7 separate regions of the Homo sapiens genome follow, and regions 1, 2, 4, 5, 6 and 7 are each linked to region 3. Evidence: promoter capture Hi-C in 16 types of primary human blood cells and fetal thymus (Javierre and others, 2016). All regions are on one chromosome and are shown on one strand. Each heading gives the region's core, a stretch centred on a gene start or on the middle of the fragment in contact. The rest is flanking DNA. Distances are from core to core; before and after follow the strand shown. Region 1 overlaps LOC105372063 (a long non-coding RNA gene). Region 2 has its middle 21 kb from the start of MAPRE2. Region 3 holds the start of RMP24 (ribonuclease MRP subunit p24). Region 4 overlaps KIAA1328. Region 5 has its middle 13 kb from the start of ZNF396. Region 6 has its middle 62 kb from the start of MAPRE2. Region 7 overlaps ZSCAN30 (zinc finger and SCAN domain containing 30).

Evidence for each region. Contacts are between HindIII fragments. The CHiCAGO score rates a contact against its expected background, and 5 or more counts as called.
Region 1: a contact is called between a fragment that was not itself captured here and the fragment with the promoter of RMP24 in region 3, in 10 of 17 cell types (neutrophils, naive B cells, megakaryocytes and 7 more). The highest score is 8.2, in neutrophils.
Region 2: a contact is called between a fragment that was not itself captured here and the fragment with the promoter of RMP24 in region 3, in 1 of 17 cell types (total CD4 T cells). The highest score is 5.8, in total CD4 T cells.
Region 4: a fragment that was not itself captured here is called in contact with the fragment with the promoter of RMP24 in region 3 in 1 of 17 cell types (total CD8 T cells); the score reaches 5.6 in total CD8 T cells.
Region 5: a fragment that was not itself captured here is called in contact with the fragment with the promoter of RMP24 in region 3 in 2 of 17 cell types (M2 macrophages and naive CD8 T cells); the score reaches 6.8 in M2 macrophages.
Region 6: a fragment that was not itself captured here is called in contact with the fragment with the promoter of RMP24 in region 3 in 6 of 17 cell types (total CD8 T cells, fetal thymus, non-activated CD4 T cells and 3 more); the score reaches 12.9 in total CD8 T cells.
Region 7: a contact is called between a fragment that was not itself captured here and the fragment with the promoter of RMP24 in region 3, in 3 of 17 cell types (non-activated CD4 T cells, total CD4 T cells and activated CD4 T cells). The highest score is 5.5, in non-activated CD4 T cells.

What each region holds. Positions count from the first base shown.
Region 1 is chr18:35,399,076-35,401,775 of GRCh38, forward strand. All of the region lies in intron 2 of LOC105372063 (a long non-coding RNA gene), which reads right to left. Among named protein-coding and RNA genes, the nearest start is that of ZNF396, 23 kb to the left of the region's middle. The HindIII fragment of the contact is 2,979 bases long and covers 1-2,700 here.
Region 2 is chr18:35,019,462-35,022,161 of GRCh38, forward strand. It overlaps a transcript of MAPRE2 not described here. Among named protein-coding and RNA genes, the nearest start is that of MAPRE2, 21 kb to the right of the region's middle. The HindIII fragment of the contact is 667 bases long and covers 1,073-1,739 here.
Region 3 is chr18:35,971,281-35,973,980 of GRCh38, forward strand. It overlaps RMP24 (ribonuclease MRP subunit p24), which reads left to right and starts at 1,399. Exons shown (of 5, transcript NM_031446.5): 1 at 1,399-1,525; 2 at 1,605-1,627. The coding sequence starts at 1,449. LOC105372066 (a long non-coding RNA gene) reads right to left here and starts at 1,171. Exons shown (of 4, transcript NR_188032.1): 1 at 1,118-1,171. RefSeq lists silencers at 886-1,180, 1,120-1,269 and an enhancer at 1,189-2,081. The HindIII fragment of the contact is 7,007 bases long and covers 1-1,936 here.
Region 4 is chr18:36,841,274-36,843,973 of GRCh38, forward strand. All of the region lies in intron 3 of KIAA1328, which reads left to right. Among named protein-coding and RNA genes, the nearest start is that of KIAA1328, 13 kb to the left of the region's middle. The HindIII fragment of the contact is 1,054 bases long and covers 919-1,972 here.
Region 5 is chr18:35,363,328-35,366,027 of GRCh38, forward strand. No RefSeq gene overlaps it. Among named protein-coding and RNA genes, the nearest start is that of ZNF396, 13 kb to the right of the region's middle. The HindIII fragment of the contact is 3,105 bases long and covers 1-2,700 here.
Region 6 is chr18:34,977,673-34,980,372 of GRCh38, forward strand. It overlaps a transcript of MAPRE2 not described here. Among named protein-coding and RNA genes, the nearest start is that of MAPRE2, 62 kb to the right of the region's middle. RefSeq lists enhancers at 249-750, 595-1,794, 751-1,250. The HindIII fragment of the contact is 447 bases long and covers 1,091-1,537 here.
Region 7 is chr18:35,261,756-35,264,455 of GRCh38, forward strand. ZSCAN30 (zinc finger and SCAN domain containing 30) reads right to left here. Exons shown (of 4, transcript NM_001112734.4): 2 at 2,190-2,700; 3 at 1,758-1,902. The coding sequence starts at 2,597. Among named protein-coding and RNA genes, the nearest start is that of ZNF397, 22 kb to the left of the region's middle. The HindIII fragment of the contact is 1,802 bases long and covers 478-2,279 here.

The sequences.
Region 1 (2,700 bases), core at 118-2,617, 570 kb before region 3:
CCAGCCTCATTTGTTGCTAGGATGAATGGCCAAGAGATCCAGTTATTAGCAATGAGAACAAAGGAAAAAATGACCTGGAAAGCATTTGGGAAAGACTTTGCTCCTGATAAAAGGAAAGCCCTTTCCCCCTTGCCATTTTCTTCCTGACTTCAATGCAGTTGTGTAAGAAAGTGATGCTTGAAGCTGCACGGTTTGGAAATCATGAGATAATAAAGCAAAAAATGAAATGCAAGCACATTGAGAATGGCAGGTGTGGTAGACAGACTAATGTTCTCCAAAGATGGCCATGTTCTATCCCTGAAACCTGTGACTATGTTATGTTGCCTGGCATGGGGGAATTAAGATTGCAGATGGAATTAAGGTTGCTAATTAACTAACTTTAAAAATAAGAAATTATCTTGGATAATCCTGGTGGGTCCAGTGTAAGCACAGGGTCTTTAAATGGAAGAGGGAGGCAGAAGAAGAGGTTGGAGTCAGAGAAACGAATGTGCTACATTGCTGGACGTGAAGGTGGAAGAAGGGGCCATGAGCCATGGAATGTAGGCGATCTCTAGAAGCTGGAAAAGACAAGGAAACAGATTCTCTCATGTAGCCTCTAGAAGGCTCCAAGGCTGTTGGCACAGCCCTGACAACACCTTTGTTTTAGCCAAGTTAGACCATTTTACACTTCTAACTTCTAGAACTGTAAAACAATAAATTCATGCTGTTTTAAGTCACCACGTTTGTGGTAATTTGTAACAGCAGCAGTAGGAAATGAATACAGCCACTCAAGGGCAAAACACCTCCCAGCCCCCCATGCAGCAAGGTGTGACCATGTGTGTAAGTAACTTCCCACTCATATCCTGAAAAGAAAGCTCCTTGCTCTCAGCTTACATTTTATTTCTATAAAGTAGAAAATGGTCATGCAAATGATTGGCCTATTTCTACCTGGTAGATGTGAACAACCCTGTAGGGGTTGGCTGAAGCCACAGATAGAATAACCTGGATCCCTGAATAATAGTAAGTTGCAGAGACACATACACTCCTTGTTCACCCACCTACTGAGACTTTCACACCAAGGGGAAATAAACTCTCTGTCTTGTTTAAGTCACTGTTATTTAGCATGTACAGAAGTCTTGTAGCTAATATCCTGTATTTCTCTTGGAAACATAGAATTGAGCAGACAAAAAACTCAGCAAAAATTTAGAAGATTTGAACAATTCAATTAATAAACTGGATTTCTATACAGAATATAGAATATATATTTAATATATACAGAATATACAGAATACTGCACCCAACAACTGCTGAATACATTTTCTTTTCAAGGACGCATGGAATCTTCACCAAAACTGACCATATGCTGGGCTCTAAAGTAAGTCTCAACAAATCTCACAGGGTTGAAAATCATACACAATTTTCACAGGATTAAAATTATACAGAATGTTTGCTTACCACAATGCAATTAAGCTAGAAATTAATTACAAAATTACAAAAAGACAACTTTAAAAATATTCTTATGTTTGGAGATTATAAAATATATTTCTAAATAATCCATGTGTCCAAAAATAATTTACAATGAATATTATAAAACATTTTAAATTAAATGGTGATATCTTGAATCACCAAGAGTAGATTTTAAATGTTCTCACCACAGTGATAAGTATGTAAGGTAATGAGTATGTTAATTAGCTTGATTTAGCCATTCTACAATGTATACATATTTCAAAACATCACGTGGTACATGATGAATATATCCAATTTATTTGTCAATTTAAAGTAATTTAAATATAAATTAAAAATACTAAAATGAATAACAATTAACTCCCAATTAAAATAAGTAAATGGTAGTAAAATACTACACATTAAAATGTAAGATGTAGCTAAGGCAGTACTGAAAAGAAAACTTGTAATCTTTAGTGCATAAAAGGTGAAAATTAACAAAGAAAGCATTCATTTCAAAAGGTTAGAAAAGGCACAATAGGCTGGGTGCCGTGGCTCACGCCTGTAATCCCAGCACTTTGGGAGGCCGAGGTGGGCGGATCACGAGGTCAGGAGATCGAGACCATCCTGGCTAACATGGTGAAACCCCGTCTCTACTAAAAATACAAAAAATTAGCGGGGCGTGGTGGTGGGCGCCTGTAGTCCTAGCTACTCGGGAGGCTGAGGCAGGAGAATGGCGTGAACCCGGGAGGCGGAGCTTGCAGTGAGCCGAGATGGCGTCACTGCACTCCAGCCTGGGCGACAGAGCCAGACTCCGTCTCAAAAAAAAAAAAAAGAAAAAGAACAATAAAATATAGCAAAATACAGTAGAAGAAAGAACATATTAGAAATAAAATAAAAACAATAAAAAAAGAAAACATACAATAAAATGATAAATACAATAAAAATGTATTACATTTTTATTGTAATACAATACATAATGTATATGTGTATGTAATACAATACATAATGTAATGTGTATGTAATACAATACATACAATAAAAATGATAACAAAGCTATAGTTCTTTCAAAGACATCCAATCAATAAACCACTGGTGAGACCCTTCAAGAAAAAAAGAGAAGACACAATTAATAAGAGTGACTGTAATTTATGTCTACACCAGGGCATGTTTACACTGAGAAAGGCCACTGAATGTAATTATATACTTTTTTGAAACCTTTATTAATTAACAAATTAATTTTATTATACCAGTGAACCTATAAAATACTTTTATTCA
Region 2 (2,700 bases), core at 156-2,655, 950 kb before region 3:
TCTGCCTCAATGATCTATCTAATGCTGTCAGTGGGATGTTAAAGTCCCCCACTATTATCATGTGGCTAGTTTTATACAGTTGTAACCAGGCCTTGTCATATTTTATTTTCTTCTTCTTTACTTTATGTCATAAGCAGTTTTCCATGCTACAGTACATATTCATGATTGTAGACATGTTTTAATGTGTGTCAAATAGTCTGTAGAGTTGACCATTATTTATCCAACTTGCCATTGTTTGCCATATGGAGTCTGTTTCAAAGTTAACTTTGGTGTGCCTGAAACTTATAGATCATAACTGGTTAAATAATACTCTGAGTGGCAATCTCATACCTATGTGTCCCCATATCCCTGTGAATATAACATGTTTTCTATTACAGCGTGGAATTCCTGATTGGATATTACCTCAGATTTTTAAAACCTTTTTCACATGTATAATTTTTGCTTTCCAAATAATAATATTCTTAAGAACAATGGATGAGGCATTCTAGTTTACTTATCTCCCCAGACATTAGATACTTAATACATACTTCTGAGTTCTGTAAAATCAGCTCGGCCTCAGGTTGCCTGGCTACTTGTACTGTGGATGACACAGATTTTCAGCACCCCTTACCTCAAATATCATTCTGCTTAAAATGTGTGCATGATGTGTTTGTCTCTGTTCTAAAATTAGCTGTGCTTCAGTCTTCAAGAAAGCAATTCAGATGAATCACAGATTATCAGGATAACATCAAACTACAGAAGGAAAAATGAATAATACAGGTCAAGATAAGCCCCAGAGTGCCTCCCTAAAGAACTCGATTCTAGGCCATGAGGATATTTTATTCTCCAGCTGGACTCTAAATCCTACTTTGGATGCTGATGTGTTATTCTGTTATGATTTTTCAAGGCAATGACTATGCTTTATATTTGGTTGGTAGTTTCTCTCATGGAATTCTTTAACTTTATTTTCGCCCTTGGTGAGTGCCATGTTCAAACCTGTGTCAGGTAATGCCATTCATGCAACATTACTTCGGTTTATAAGCTGGCCTGAACCATTTGCACCCTCTTTTAGTGAGTGCTTAGCTTAGAGAAAAGCTTTCCTTGGCTTGTCAAAAAAAAAAAAAATGTGCAGTGAGTGCTTAGAACATTTGTATACTGATATTATTGCCTCTGACCAGAAGCAACCTATTTCTGTAAAGGTGTCTTCGAATAAGACTATCTAACCACTCTTGCCTCCTACTCAAGAAAACGTATCCCCTCAATTATAAAATAAAAATTTCCTGGCTCGAGAACATTACTTTATTTAAAAAGCTGTGTCCATAAATTTGATATTTTCGTTGTATAGTGAGACATAAAAACATGAAGCATTTGCTTTTAAATTTTCATTTAGGTAAAATGATTTTAGATTATATACTAAAAATGGCAGAGAAGAAAATTCTGGTTGGAAAAATTGCCATTGCTGGCACAAGAAACAGAATTATTTGTCTGGATGGAACTCAATACATATTTTTAACTGATACAGAATTAGGGGTATCCTGGAATGTTCAAAAAGACTTCAGAAGATGTGGTCTTTGAGCCGAGCCTGCCTGTGTAAAATGGTAGATGAAAGGAAAAAGGACATTCCAGGCGAGAAATGAAATGTAGGCCATCTCAAGGGGGCAGAGAGAACCTGGTACTTTAGTGTGAATAATGGAGGATTAAGGAAGAAAGATAAGCTAGGGTCAAACTGTGCAGAGTCCCAAATACCAGACCATTACTTAAGCTTTATATTTTAGACAATGAGGGAAATGTTGAACATGATGCAAGTATATTCTAGAAAAATTCGTGAGTTTTAAGATGACAGTCTAAATACAGTTTTGCTCCCATCTTCCCAGCTCTTCAACTGAAATAACAAAATTTAAAAAGGAGAGCAAATCCATGACACTTACAGAAACATGAATGGGGACCAGAAATGGACAAAGTTCTGGAAGATGGAAAGGGCATAGGATTATATTGCCAGCTAAATAAGAGCAAAAATTGAAAAAGAAATAAAATAGCTAATTTAGATGAAGTAATTCAGAGAATAGAAGAAAACGTTTAATAAATATCCTTAAACAGACAAAAAGTATTGCATCCCTTAAACTTCACGGCCCCACTCCTCCCAGAAAAAAAGAGTTGCTATGAATAAGAGGTAATCAGAAAGTGCAAGAGCTTTGGCGAATTAAAAATATAATTAAATCAAAAATCAATTGGACTTAGTGTGGCTGAGAGTATCACAGGGTATAAAGCAAAAGATGAAAAGACAGAAAATACTAGAAAAGTATTAGAGAAATAGAAGAATGATCTAAATGGCCTGGCATTCTTTATGAAGAGTTTCAAGAAGACATTGAAGACAAAGAAATAAAGGCATAAAGATTCAGATTAAAAGAGGCTACTGAATGTTGACCACGATGAATTTAAAAAACCCAAACCTAGGTCCACCCTCATGAAATTTCAGAATAAAAGAGATGTTAGAGCTTGAGGGTCAGAGAGAAGAGTGATTACATACAGAAGAGTGATCACCTGAATGTTATAGACATCAATATGCAATTCTGAAGCCTCAGAAGCAGTGGAACCATGCTTTCAAAGTTCTGAGGGAAGTGATTTTGGACATTTCAACTATCAATAAAATATAAAAACAAATAGATAACTTCTAACATGAAAAGGTTTGAAAACTTTACGTCTCTGTATCTCTCAAAAAAT
Region 3 (2,700 bases), core at 149-2,648:
TGCACTCCAGCCTGAGCAACAGAGTGAGATCCCATCTCAGATAAATAAATAAAGCAGGCTAAATAAGGGTCCACTATCCAGAACATACACATTAAAAGAACCTTACAACTTATCAACAAAAAGACAACTCCAATAAAAAATGAGCAAAGAACTTAAACAGCCAAAGATACATAAATTGCCAACAAGCACATGAAAAGCTGCTCAAAAGCATCAGTAGTCAGGGAAATGTTAATCAAAACCACAATGAGATGCTACATCATACTCACTAGGAAGGCTAGATTTAAAAAAAAAAGAAAAAGAAAAGCAAATGTTGGTGAGGATACGGAGAAACTGGAACCCTCATTAAGCACAGAATTACTACATAACCCAGCAGATCTACTCTTAGGTATTATACCCCGAAGAACAGAAAAAAGGCACTCAAACAAATGCATGTACACACATGTTCACAGCGGCATTCATTCATAACAGCCAAAAAGTAGAAACAATTCAAACGTTCAACTGATGAATGGATAAACCATTGTGATACCGCCATACAATGGAATATTATTCAGCCATAACAACGAATGAAGTACTGATACGTGCTGCAAGGTGGATGAACCTGATACATTATGCTAGGTGAAGGAAGCCAGACACAAAAGGTCGTGTGTATGATTCCATTTACATGAAATGCCCAGAATAGGTAAATCCATAGAGACAGAAAGCGGACTGGTGGTTGCCAAGGCCTGGGAGGGAGAGGAGGATTGGCCGTAAGTGCTTCATGGAGTTGGCTGTCCTTCGGCGAAATATTTTGGAAATAGCAGAATGGTGCTTGCACAACATTGTAAATTTACTAAACGCCACTGAATTGTTCACCTTAAAATGGTCAATATTACGTTATGTGAATTTCACTTTAATTACAAAAAGAGAAACGCTAGCGTTTACGCAGGCGGAGGGCAGGCTGGACTGGGGACGCTCCTCCCGGCCGCCTCGTTGCTGGCAGCGCTTCCGCCCGCCGGCGCACCAGTCAGTACCGCGCCCGGCGAATGTGGAGGGCGAAGCTGCGGCAGGGCAATCACAAAAGGGCTGTCAGAGAGGAGGCGAGGCGGGAGGAAGATGGAGAGGCGGGTGGGAGCCTCACCTTTGGACTCTATCGCCACAGCCCGGTCTAGCCGCTACGCCCGAGCTCAAGTCTGACTCGAAACTCCGCTGGGTGCCTGAGAGGACCCGGCAGGCCAAGGGGTGGAACTGAGGGGGCGGGGACGCGGCGGGCGGGTGGGGCCGCCTCCCGGCTGGGCACGCCTCCAAGCCAGACTGGACGCGAAGGAAACCGGAACCTGTCTGCCTACGGTGCCTGTTTCCGGAAGCAGCTTGAGTCCGGACACCAACGACGGGGACGCTGGGAAGCCGACTTCCGGCGCCCTATTTTCTCACCTGGTTCCCGCGGCGAGCCAGCGGCAGCGGCGGCGGCGATGAGACAGAAGCACTACCTTGAGGCTGCAGCGCGGGGACTGCACGACAGCTGCCCGGGCCAAGCCCGCTACCTCCTGTAAGAGGACTGGAGGGGAAGCGGGAGGCGAGCGGGTAGGTGTTCCTTTGCTCCTCACAAGTCTCTTTCTCTTTTACAGCTGGGCCTACACTTCGTCGCACGGTAAGAAGAACGCCTGTCTCTTGTGCTTTGGGCTCTTGTCGCCCCGCTTTCCTCTGTTCCGCACAACGCTCAAATAAGGCCGATGGACTCACTTCCCTCCATAAAAACAACAACAACAAAGCCCGCATGTGTCTCGGTTTCGTGAAAAATCCAAATTCTTTAATGTGCCTTGTCTTGCTTTGTTAGCGGCATTTGACACATTGATCAGTCTTGAAATAGTTTCCTCCCTTGGCTTCTAGGTCATTACGTAGTTCACCTCTTCATTTATTACTTCTCGATTTGCTTTGCTGGTTCCTCCTAATCTCCCCAAGCTTTAAGTATTGTCGTGGCCCAGTACTCAGCCCTTGGACCTCTTTTCTAGGCACACTCGCTTCCTTGGTGACAGTTTTTCATCCAATCTCATGGCTTTTAAATACCATATACTGAGGACTTACAAATGTATATACTCAGCGCAGACCTCTCCTCTGAATTCTAGACTCATATATCCGAATGTCTTCTTGACAAATTCTTTTCAATGTCTAGTAATTCAAACTTAGCTAATATGTCCAAAACCTGAGCTTTAACCCCCAACAAGATCCTCCAGTTTTTCTCATTTCAGTAAATAATTCCATTCTTCCCTTACAGTTATTGAGCCCAAAAACCTTGGAGCTATTCTTGACTCCCTAACTCTCTCTCCTCCCCCAGGCCAGTATGCGAGCAAATCCTGTTGGCTTTAAAATGTAGCCAAAATCAGCCAGGAGCGGTGGCTCACCCCTGTAATCCCAGCACTTTGAGATGCAGAGGCGGGCGGATCATTTGAGGCCAGGAGTTCGAGACCAACCTGGCCAACATGGCGAAACGCTGTCTCTACTAAAAATACAAAAAAATTACCTGGCATGGTGGTGCACGCCTGTAATCCCAGCTACTCGAGAGGGTGAGGCATGAGAATCTCTTGAACCCGGGAGGTGGAGGTTGCAGTGAGCGGAGATGGCGCCATTGCACTCCACTCCTCACCACATCCATTGCTACTACCCTGCTCCAGGCCATCACCAGCTCTCTCCTGGATTAATAAAAGTGAAAGTCCTTTAAAAGGA
Region 4 (2,700 bases), core at 196-2,695, 870 kb after region 3:
TAAGCCTACTATTCATCAGGAAGTAATATGCACATGTAGTGTAAAGTAAGATTCACTGCAATTCAGAGAGAAAAGAATCCTCTTCCCAATAGATGGTGTTGGGCCCATAGACTGCCAGTATTGGGTCAATAGACTGTCAGTATTGGCCCAACACCATCTACTGGGAAGAGGATTCTTTTCTTCTTTGAATTGCAATGATACCATTGTTGTAAGTCAAGTGACTGTAGATATGTGGCCTTTCCTCATCATGTTTTCTTCTTTGGTAATTCGTATCCTGAACTTTATAATTCTTTTGTTTTTCCATATCGGGGTTCGCCGACTTTTTCTATAAATTGGACAGGTAGTAAATACTTTAACTTTTGCAGGCTGTAACATCTGTCTCAACAACTCAACTCTGCCACAGTAGCATTAAAAGAGCCATAAGCAATATGCAAATGAATGAGCACGTTTTAATAAACCTTTGTTTACAAAAACAGCCAGTGGGCCAGATTCGGCTTGCAGCCATGGTTTACCAAGCCCTGTCCTACAGTGTAAATACATTTTTTTTGAAACAGTATTTCATATATATTTGGAACTTTATATAAATGAGCTCATATCCATTTGTATTGTGTGATTTGCTTTTTATTTCATATTATGTTTATGAGATTTCTTGTTTTTTTTTCCCTCTATGGCTCTTCCAATGTTACGTGAGATTTCTTTATGTTGTATGTAGTTATATTTCATTTCTTTTCACCGTCTCGGGGTTTAGTCAGTTATTTTAACTTAGAATATTTAAAAGAAAAATTATTGAATAGTGCGAGAACCAAAAAGGCAAAAAGGGAACATTAAAGTATCATGAAAGTAGTAACTATAAGAAACAACCACAATCTCTAGAACTGGATGAGAGGGCAGAATAAGTCGGAATTATTGAAACTTAGAAGCTTAGAGGAGGGGCCCCTTAAAGCTGCAACTTGGACCTCTGGTGATGGGACACCAACCCGGCTGGTACTGCCATTTCTGAGGAGGCCTGATAAAGGCTGGTTCTGTAAGGGCTGGAAAAAATTGCAAACTGGAATCAGCAGTACTTGCCAGGGTAAGGAACTCAGGGGTGACACTGTCAGTAACAGGAAGGAAGTAGCCTTCCTTCTTTCTTCCTGGTCTTCATCTAGTTCTTTGTGTTGGCAGAGTTCAACAGAGTGCCAGGTGGCGAAGGAGAAATGGTGTTTCCAGAGTCTTAGACTTAGCATCTCAAAGCAGAGGGTGGAAGGGTAGTTTTGAGGGGGAAAGTTAGTATCATAGCTACCAGTACCTCTAGAATTTCATTGTATCAATATGCCAGCCACAGTTTTACTATTCTGTAGTTAATAGACATTTGCCTTTTCAGATTTTTGCTGTTGTTAACACAATGCCACTAATTATTTATTTTTTTTTTTTTGCCTAGTTACAAAGATTTCTCTTTTGTTCTTTTACTCAGCACATCACTAATGAAATGTCTTTTCATGGGTTATCAGCAACTTCCTCCATTGCCAAATCCATTGCCTTCTTCCCCCAGTCTATTTGTCTTTTTTAATCATTAGCACTGTTGAACCCACACTATTCTTGAAACTTTTTCTTTCTTGTTTTCTCCTACAATGTTATATGCTTCTGATTCTCCACTTGTCCTTTCAAATGCCACTTTAAATTAAACTAAAATCCAATTACTTAAATTGAAATTAAAATCAAATGCCAATTTTCCTGGACTTGTAGATGATTTTTAAAATACTAATATTTTTTCTTAATTTTAAATACATAATTATTAAAGAAAAATTTAAAACATAGAAAAGTATAAAGAATAATAAAAAATCTTAACATTATCCATAATACCATACACTGACTTTTAAATCTTTATGATTTTCTCTAGTTTGAAAGCTAGACCTACCTTTCCAGCTTCCTGCCTAGACGTTTGCACATGAATGGTTTGCTGGCATCTTACATTGAGCATTTCTAAAACCAAAGCTTATTTTATTATCATCTTCTTTTCTCCATTTTTTTCCCTACTCTCTTTCCCACCTTCGGCTATTACTATTTCCAGAATTCACTTTAGGTGTTTTCAGTTATTCTTGGCTACCCGAGGTAATTGGACTAACTTAACTTTGGTGGTTGCGCAAATGCCAAGGATTACAGCTCCTTCCTTTTACATGTTACCTACGATTCCTTCGTGACTCCCTGAGTTTATGTCTTTAAGGACCCCTCCTAATGATGCTGAGGTGCTGGGGAAAAGTTTTTGTAGCACAAAAGATTAGAATAATATGGTGTTTAAAGAGCACAGACTCTGGAACCTGTGTTTAAGTCTTGATTCTGCTATTTAATTGCTATAATCCTGGATATGTACCCTTAAAGTAGAATAGGAATAGTAACTATTAATACTTAATAGCGTTGTTGTGCAAATAAAATGGAATAGTAAGTACAAAGTGCTTACAATATTCCTGGCATGAAGTGAGCACTAGATGTAATTGTTAGCTATTGCTATTATTACTCTTTGGTTTAGTACTCTTTGGGATGAACCTTAGGATATTTTGAATGCTTAGTAACTGGTGCCTCTGCTGCTAATCTTCGTATACCCTTAAGCAGCGTGGGGACTATGGTGTAATAACAGTTCTCAGTATCTTCTGTTGAGTATTTGTTTCTATGACATTCACAAAGGGAAAGTTGTTTTCCTAATAAACCCCAGTATTTAAGCAG
Region 5 (2,700 bases), core at 161-2,660, 610 kb before region 3:
ACATTTGTAATGTTATTCAACTATCACCACTTTACATTTCCAGAACTTTTTCATGATTTTAACAGAAACCATGTATCCACAATAACTTCCATTCCCCCTTTCCTCTAGCCCCTGATAATCATTATTTGACTTTATGTCTTTATGAATTTGCCTATTCTAGTTACCTCAAATAAGCAGAATCACATTTGCCCTTTCATGTCTGGCTTATTTCACTTAGCATAGTGTTTTTAAGGTTCATCCTTGTAGCATGTATCAGAATTTCATTTGTTTTTATGGCTGAATAATACTCTGTTGTATGTCTATACCAAATTTTGTTTATTCATTCATATGTAGATGGTCATTTGTGTAGTTTCCACCTTTTGGTTATTTCAAATAATGCTGCTATGAACATTGGCATACAGATACCTGTTTGAGTCTCTGCTTTCAGATCTTTTGAATATATACATAGAAGTGGAATTACTGGATCATATGAGAATTTTGTTTAACTTTTTGAGGAACCACCAAACTGTTTTCCATAGCAGCTACACCATTTTACATTCCTAATGGCAATGTGCAAAGGTTCCAATTTCTCCTCATCTTTTCCAATACCTGTTTCTTTTTAAAATAATAACCATCCTAATGGTTGTGAAGTGGTATCTCATTGTGCTTTTGATTTGCATTTCCCTAATGATTAGTGACATTGGCCATCTTTTCATGTGTTTATTGGCCATTTAGGTATCCTCTTTGAGAAGTGTCTATTCATGACCTTTGCCCATTTTTGAAATTTCTGTTGTTGTTGAGTTGGAGGGGTTCTTTATATATTCTAGATAGTAATCCCTTATCAGATATATAATTTTCAAATATTTTTGTTCCACAAGTATTTGAGTGCCTATTATGGGCCACGTACTGTGCCAGATGCTTGGGAAACAATGGTAAATGAGGCAGCTTATGCTCTCAGGCAGCATGAAATAGTGGAGTCAATACAGAAATAGATATAATCTCCATTTAGCAGGGCAAAAAGTTATCACATTGCTTCTCAAATAAGCAAAGGAAAATGTAGTTTATTTTTTATAACTGATAATCTTTTTTCTTGAATCCTTGCCCCATTGGGTGGGTGGGTGGGTGGTGAAAGAGCTGAATTAAATTGCTATATTTAGTTATTATGAAATTGAATTATTCAGTCCATTTTAAGTTCAACTCCCTCTCATGGCTATTTCTCACTCTGCCCTTTTCTGCCACCTGCTTGGGAAGGTGAGGGGGGCATACATTCCCTGTGATGAGGTGGTGCTATGGATTAGGTGTTAGGTGGGCTTGCTGTTCTGATCTTCTCTGGTTTCTATTCTGGGCAGCTGGTCTTCTGTGGTGCTTGCTCACCAAACCTGCGGCAACAAATCATCTGTTTTTTTGGTTGGGCTGGGGGCCAGTGTCTCTTCCTTGGTGATTTGCCTCCACTTTGTTTCTAGGAAGAGCTATAGGTCCCCAGTAAGGTCTGGTGGGCCCTGCAGCTCTTAGCTACAGGATCCACAAGGTTACTTGCTCAACTATCCCAACTTTCCAGCTCTATAGTCAGCTATTTTCCAAGGTTCCCACTGGGCACAGAGAACTGCCGTATCTCTTTCAAGCCACATACTAGCTGATAGAAGCCATTTACCTAACACTGAATGGCTGTTTTTATGAGAGTTCAGTGTTGGAGCACTAGCAGTCTGTTCAACAATTTTCCTCCCAATGCACTCAATGGCAAGGGGGCACAGCCTTCTCCCCTTGATTCTCCCCTAACCCCCTCCAAAATTCTGCAGGGTTGGGCAACAGAGGTGAAAGGACACCCTGTGCCTGACCCTCTCATTGACTCACTCTTCCCAGGACTAGGAGAGCCTTAAAAATTTTTCTTTTTGCTACTCCATAACTTTTTCCATCCCAAGGTGTCATTTATTCTCCTCTTCCTTGCAGCCATACTTGTAATTTAATACTTTAAAAATATTTTATTTCATGAGATAAATGTAATGGTAAGGATAAGAACAGACTGATATGCAATTAACATAAGAGTGTGGTGGTGCTCTCCAACCTACTCTTTGGGTGTTAGGGAAGAAGTGGTACCTAAACTAAAACATGAAGAACACACAGGAATTAGGTAACATGTGAAAGCTAGATAGGAGTTCAAAAGGAGTACATGGAAAGGTCCAAAGGCTAGAGGACTTCTGATATTTCAAAATGGCTGAAGCATAGAGGCAATGGCAAGAGCTGAAGCTGAAGTGGTAAGCTGTGGTCAGATCACAAAGAGCCTTAACAATCTTGTTTAGCAGTTCTGACTTTATCCTAAAACAAGGGAAAGCCTATGTCTTAGACAGGGAAAGGGCATGATAAAATGTATGCCTTAGCAAGATTACTCTGGTTGAGAGATGAATGCATATGAAGAGGGGAAAGTTAAGGGCCACATAATTCCCCTCACTCAGGGACTAGCCACCATCTTGAATTTTGCCAGTGTAAGCTGGAAAAATATAGGGTAGGAGGCAGGGTCACAACAGCATATTTAAGTGTTGAAGGGATGGATGCAGAAGGAAGGCAGAGAGTGAAGAAATAGAAGAGAGGAAGAATGACTGGCAGCCAAGGCCTTTCAGAGGTGAGAATGCTGAGGCTCAGAGGGGAGAGACCCCTCTCTCATTCTCAGACGGGGGAGAGGCCCCTCTCTCATTCTCAGAAGAGGGAGAGGAAATGATGGGTAAA
Region 6 (2,700 bases), core at 64-2,563, 990 kb before region 3:
CCGCGCTCCCGGGACTCAGGAGCCGGGTGGGTGCAAAAGGAAGCGGGTTGTTATTCTGCGCCCAAGCATCTCTTCTGCAGGGAGCCCCGGGAGCGCAGGGCGAGGGCTACTCAGCGACTTCGCACTCGGCTTAGTGGGAAATTCTTCGGTCTACCCTTAGAAGGGCTATGCGGAAGCCAGAAATCCCACAAAGAGCCAGGAGAGGGGTGGACGCGGAAAGCGGTCCCCTCTGAACCTGGGGCGCTCGATAAAGCTGATTTTCAGACCCCAAAAGGGCTAGTGGGTTTGGTCACTCCTCCAGTGACTTCGTCAATACAGTGCCAAGGGCAGAGCCGTAACCTCGGAGAAGGGGCGCTGCAGCCATTTGATCAGGAGAAGCCTTTGTCTTAACCCCCAAGCCCCTCCTGCTAGTCCTCGCTGGGTCAGTAGCGCTGGGAGTAATTAATATTACGAACATTAGCCTTTCCTTCACCTCCGCACCAGCCAACACTGCTGTCCCCTCCCTGATTGTCTTCTCTATCACTTGTTCACATCTCCTTTTCCAAAAAAAGAAGAACAAAAGGAAAATAGTGTAGACCCGCTAGGCAGGAAGAGGTCACTAAAAATACTATCGTGCTGTCAATGTAGAATGAAGGGTTAAGCGCTCAAACCCGCGCCCGCGCGCACCGAAACGGAAGAACTTCCTTGATTAGCATAGTATCGACCCTGGGGCCGCGCTGCGAGGCGGAGGTTCGGTCCCAGCTGGGGTGAAGTGTGCAGACCGGTTGCGATTGTGGTCAGACGCAGCACCTACTTCTAATCTGAGGACCCGCGATTTACACTTTTGCTGAATAGGACACTGTGGAATGAAACAGAACAGAGATCAAAAGGTAATCTGAAGAATGGCAACATTTCCCCTGCTTCTCCTGAACGCTAAATTTGGCCAAATTTTTATCAAGCAAAAAGGGGTATGGCTCTTGGTTAGCCAGTGTCCCCTCTGGAAATGAAATGCTTCCTTACTTTGCTTTCGTTCTTTTCTGCCAAACTGATTAAAGACATCAGTTAGGGGTAAGATAAGAGGTCCGGGAGCTCACCGAGTGATTGGTAGATAAGCTTAACTGGTAAATTTTCCTTGCGTGGGTAGAGCTATGCTTCTTCAAAGCACTGGTTCTCAAATTTTGCTGCATAGTGGAATCATCTGGGGAGCTTTGAGAACTCCTGATGTCCTGATCACATCCCAAACTATTTAAATCAGGTTGTTTGGGAGTGAGAAATAGGCACAGTATTTAAAAGCAAAAACAACTCCTGGTAACTTCATTGTGCAGCCAAGTTGGGGAAACTCTACAGCAAAGGAAGAGTTCAGCGGCCAGCAGCAGCAGGCATTGCAAGACAAGATGCCACTTTAACTACTTGGGTGGGTGAGAGAAAAGACGCTGAAACTGGAGTGCCGATGACTAACACCCTGGGGCGGGGAACTGTCATCTAGCAGCCTAGCTGGTGGTGACACCTACCACAACATTTTTCCCTTCCCTGGCTAGGGTCTGATTGGAAAAATCGAAGCTTACTTCAATGCCTGGTTTCTGCACTGTTGTTAAGGGAGACGGATAGAAACTTCCATTCCTGTGATGACTCATGTGTAGCAGTCAGTAGGAAAACCCAGCAGAAACATACTCCAGCAGCCTGGTGAGTCAGCAGGCTGCACAGCGATCCCAGTGAATAGGAAGTAATTACAGCGAGTAGTTTGTTGACACGCACAAACTGCACTCCTTTGAAAGCACATTTAATATCTGATCAGGATCTACTTGCTTGCAGGAGCCACTCCCTTTGTAGCACACCATTCTGCCTGTTTCATATAATGCTCTCTTCTGTTAGAAGGGGAAACACAAAGCTAACTAGACATCCTGTAACTTTCTTGGTGGGAAGCATGTAAAAAAAAAACTGTTGGGAAAGTGTAAACTGGTTTGGGTTATTTCAGTTATGTGAAGCAGAAAGGATGAATATGTAACACATAAATTTTGCATACAAAAAAGTCAAATACTACTTGATTATACATCCAGGAGTGAATTAAATGATCTATTTAAATAGAAATGGTTACACTTAACATTTTATATAAAACCTCATGTTGGCTATTAACCAAAGGTTTCTTGCCTTTAAAACTGTCATCCCAAAAGGATTACTCCAGGATAACCTGTTATCTCTGGTTCTCTGTATCTTTAACAGGTTATCTTAGAGTCATCAAAAAACAAACTTTCTTTTTCTTCTTTCAGTTTTAATACCTCTTCACTATTTTTAATATCACTATCACTCTCTGCACTGTTGTCTAAATGCTTTCTTCCCCTTCCTCAATTTCTTTTCTTTTCTTTTTCTTTTTCTTTTTTTCTTTTTTTTTTTTTTTTTTTTTTTGAGACAGAGTCTCACTCTGTTGCCCAGGCTGGCACGATTTCGGCTCACTGCAACCTCCGCCTCCAAGTTCAAGCGATTCTCCTGCCTCAGCCTCCTGAGTAGCTGGGATTACAGGCACACATCATCATGCCCAGCTAATTTTTGTATTTTTATAGAGATGGGGTTTCACCATGTTGGCCAGGCCGGTCTTGAACTCCTGACCTGAGGTGATCCACCCGCCTCGGCCTCCCAAACTGCTGGGATTACAGGAGTGAGCCACCACACCAGCCCTCAATTTCTTTAAGGAGGAAAAACAGTGTCTTGCACACAGCAAGCACT
Region 7 (2,700 bases), core at 129-2,628, 710 kb before region 3:
TTGCTGTAGTTGCTTCTTGGCTTAAGAAGCTTTGGGGCTGAGACGATAGGGTTTTCTAGACATGGGATCATATTATCTGCAAATAGAGACAGCTTGATTTCCTTGAGATGAATTTTCAAAACCCGTTTTAATGTAGCACCTGCTTGGTGCAGAAGATACTTAAGAGGGCCTGCTTGGCTAATGGTAGTATCAGGGTATGATGCCTGGGGAAGGTTGGGAAGCAGTTTCCCAGAAGAATTCAGTGGATGGATGGTATGGATTCCTTTGGTGAACTGCCGAGGTCCAGGGTCTGGCCTTTGGGCTTAGGTCCTCATATACCTAATTTTATCATCATACAAAAAATAGATTTATCTCTTGGGGTAGACTCTTAATAACTAAGCCCGTGAAACTCAGTAATAAAAACAGAATGAGAATTAATGAGTAATGTAACCATCACATGGACCAGACTGAACAAATGCAATTTTCTTATTACAGCTAAGCTTCATAGGAAGTTAATAAGATTGCTTGGTGAAGACAAAATCAGAAGGGTAGTCAGATTTAACAAAAGATTAATGAGAACAAGCTGGTATACCTGATATATCTGCTGCCCATAAGGATGATTTTGCCAATAACATAATCAAAGTCCTTTCAGTTCTAATCCCTGGCATCTGTGACAGCTATCAATTTATTGCCTCAGTTTCAAATCTACGCTTCATTGCCCTGTCTGTGATACTGGACTATTTGCCAGCTGGCATGCTGTGAGCTTTATCAATAGAGGGGGTTGCAGAGGAACTGGAAGAAAGGGCTTTTCTTCCTGGTTCTGGCATGTTCTTTGTGTTTGTTTCTGTAGCACATGGGACACCCAGCAGTGCACATCCCAATGAGTTCCAAAGGCCCCATCCCTATGGGTAGCTTCCCAGCAAGTTCTGTACCAGGTCAGCTCCCCATGGGGAGCTTCTAGCACCCCAGAGTGTGGCTCCTCAGTGAGTTCTGCCAGCTCAGCACTGCAGTGGCATCTCCATCCAGTGGGCTGTGGCTGTGCCCTCTCCAACAAGGCCTGGATCTAAGACCTGGCAGGAAAGGGGAAGTTGTGGCACCCTCCTGCAAATTTGTTCTTACCTTTGATGTTCTGCCTCAGCCCTAGAGACACTCTATATCTGTTATTGCTGTATTCTTTTGAGTTTCACTTTTTGTTATAACACTTAGTAGTTAATAATTCTTAACATTAAACTTTCCCTGTTCAAATGATTATGTGGTTTCTATTACTGAAAATGTATTCATCTCCATCTTAGGGACTGTCTTGCCAATGAAGCCAAAATTAAATAACAGAATACTGAGCTTTGAATATTATGGATATTTAGCCAGGCATGGTGGTGTACAACTGTAGTCCTAGCTACTCTGGAGGCTGAGGCAGGAGGATCACTTTAACCCAGGGGTTCAAGGCTGCTGCAGTGAGCTGTGGTTGCACCACTGCACTCCAACCTGGGTGATAGAGTGAGACCCCATCTAAAAAAAAAAAAAAGAAAAAAGAAAAAGAAAAAAAATAATTATGGGTATTAGAGAATTTTACTAAAGACTTTAATTCTTAACCCAAAGTTACAAATGATACTGGAATTTCAGATTCTAGGCAGAGCCTAAGGAAGAATATTTCTAGGCAAAGAAGCCTTTCCACAATACTTAGTGATAGCCACAAGTGGCTGTCGTTAAGAAAATGAACCGTGCCACAGTTGATAGCTCTCACCTCCATCCTCAACCCCACATGGACTGGGGCTTCTCACCTCTCTCCTGGAAAGCCTGGGACTCCTGAGTCTCAGTCTTGCACTGGTTCTCTAAGGGCTGCACCGGGCTATTCAGAGACAGAGACTTCAGTGCTCCTGTGGATGTCATTTCCTGCCAGAACATTTCTTGGCCATGAGTTGTGTCCTAGGAGTAATCAAGTACCAGCACTATCATTCTGAGGATACACAAGCAGAAAACTCCTAGAGCAACAGGGCAGGAACAGAAGAATCAAAAACTCATTCAAATGATTAGAGAGAAAAAAAACAGGACCTTAAGAGCCCTAGTGACTTGAACCCAATGAGTGAATAATTAATAACCCAAAAGAAAGAAACTGTATAATTCTCTGAGAGCTGAGTCAATGCCCCAGTCATAATTATGGCTTCCCCATTAACTTACAATAGATCAAACAAACAAAAATGTTTACTTCTTACCTGTTGCCTTGGCTCCTCCAGTTCTTTTTCCAGCTCCTCCAGCATAGTCACAGCTTCCTCTCCATTCTCTGGCCGATGCTCTCGCAGCCAAGCTTGCAGCTCCTCAGGAAGGATGGCCAGGAACTGCTCCAACATCAGCAGCTCCAGGATCTGCTCCTTGGAGTGCACCTCCGGCCTCAACCACTGACAGCAAAGCTCTCGCAGCCGGCTCAGAGCCTCCCGAGGGCCAGTGGAGTCAGAGTAACTAAACTGCCTGAACTTCTGCCGGAATACCTCTTGGCTCCAGGGGTTTTCCTGAAGGCCAAAGTCCTGGTCCAAAACATAATTTTCTTCTTCAACCTTGACAACTAGAAGTCCTTCCTGTTCTTCTGGAGCATGGTAGGCCAAGACTGTGGCCTCTCCTGACATTCTGGGCAGAGACAGTCTGAAAAGGCTGCCCAGGTGAGGCAGGGAGGAGATGGAGATTTGCGTCTGAGAGATTCCTTCTGAATTCCAACTCCCCAGGACGCTC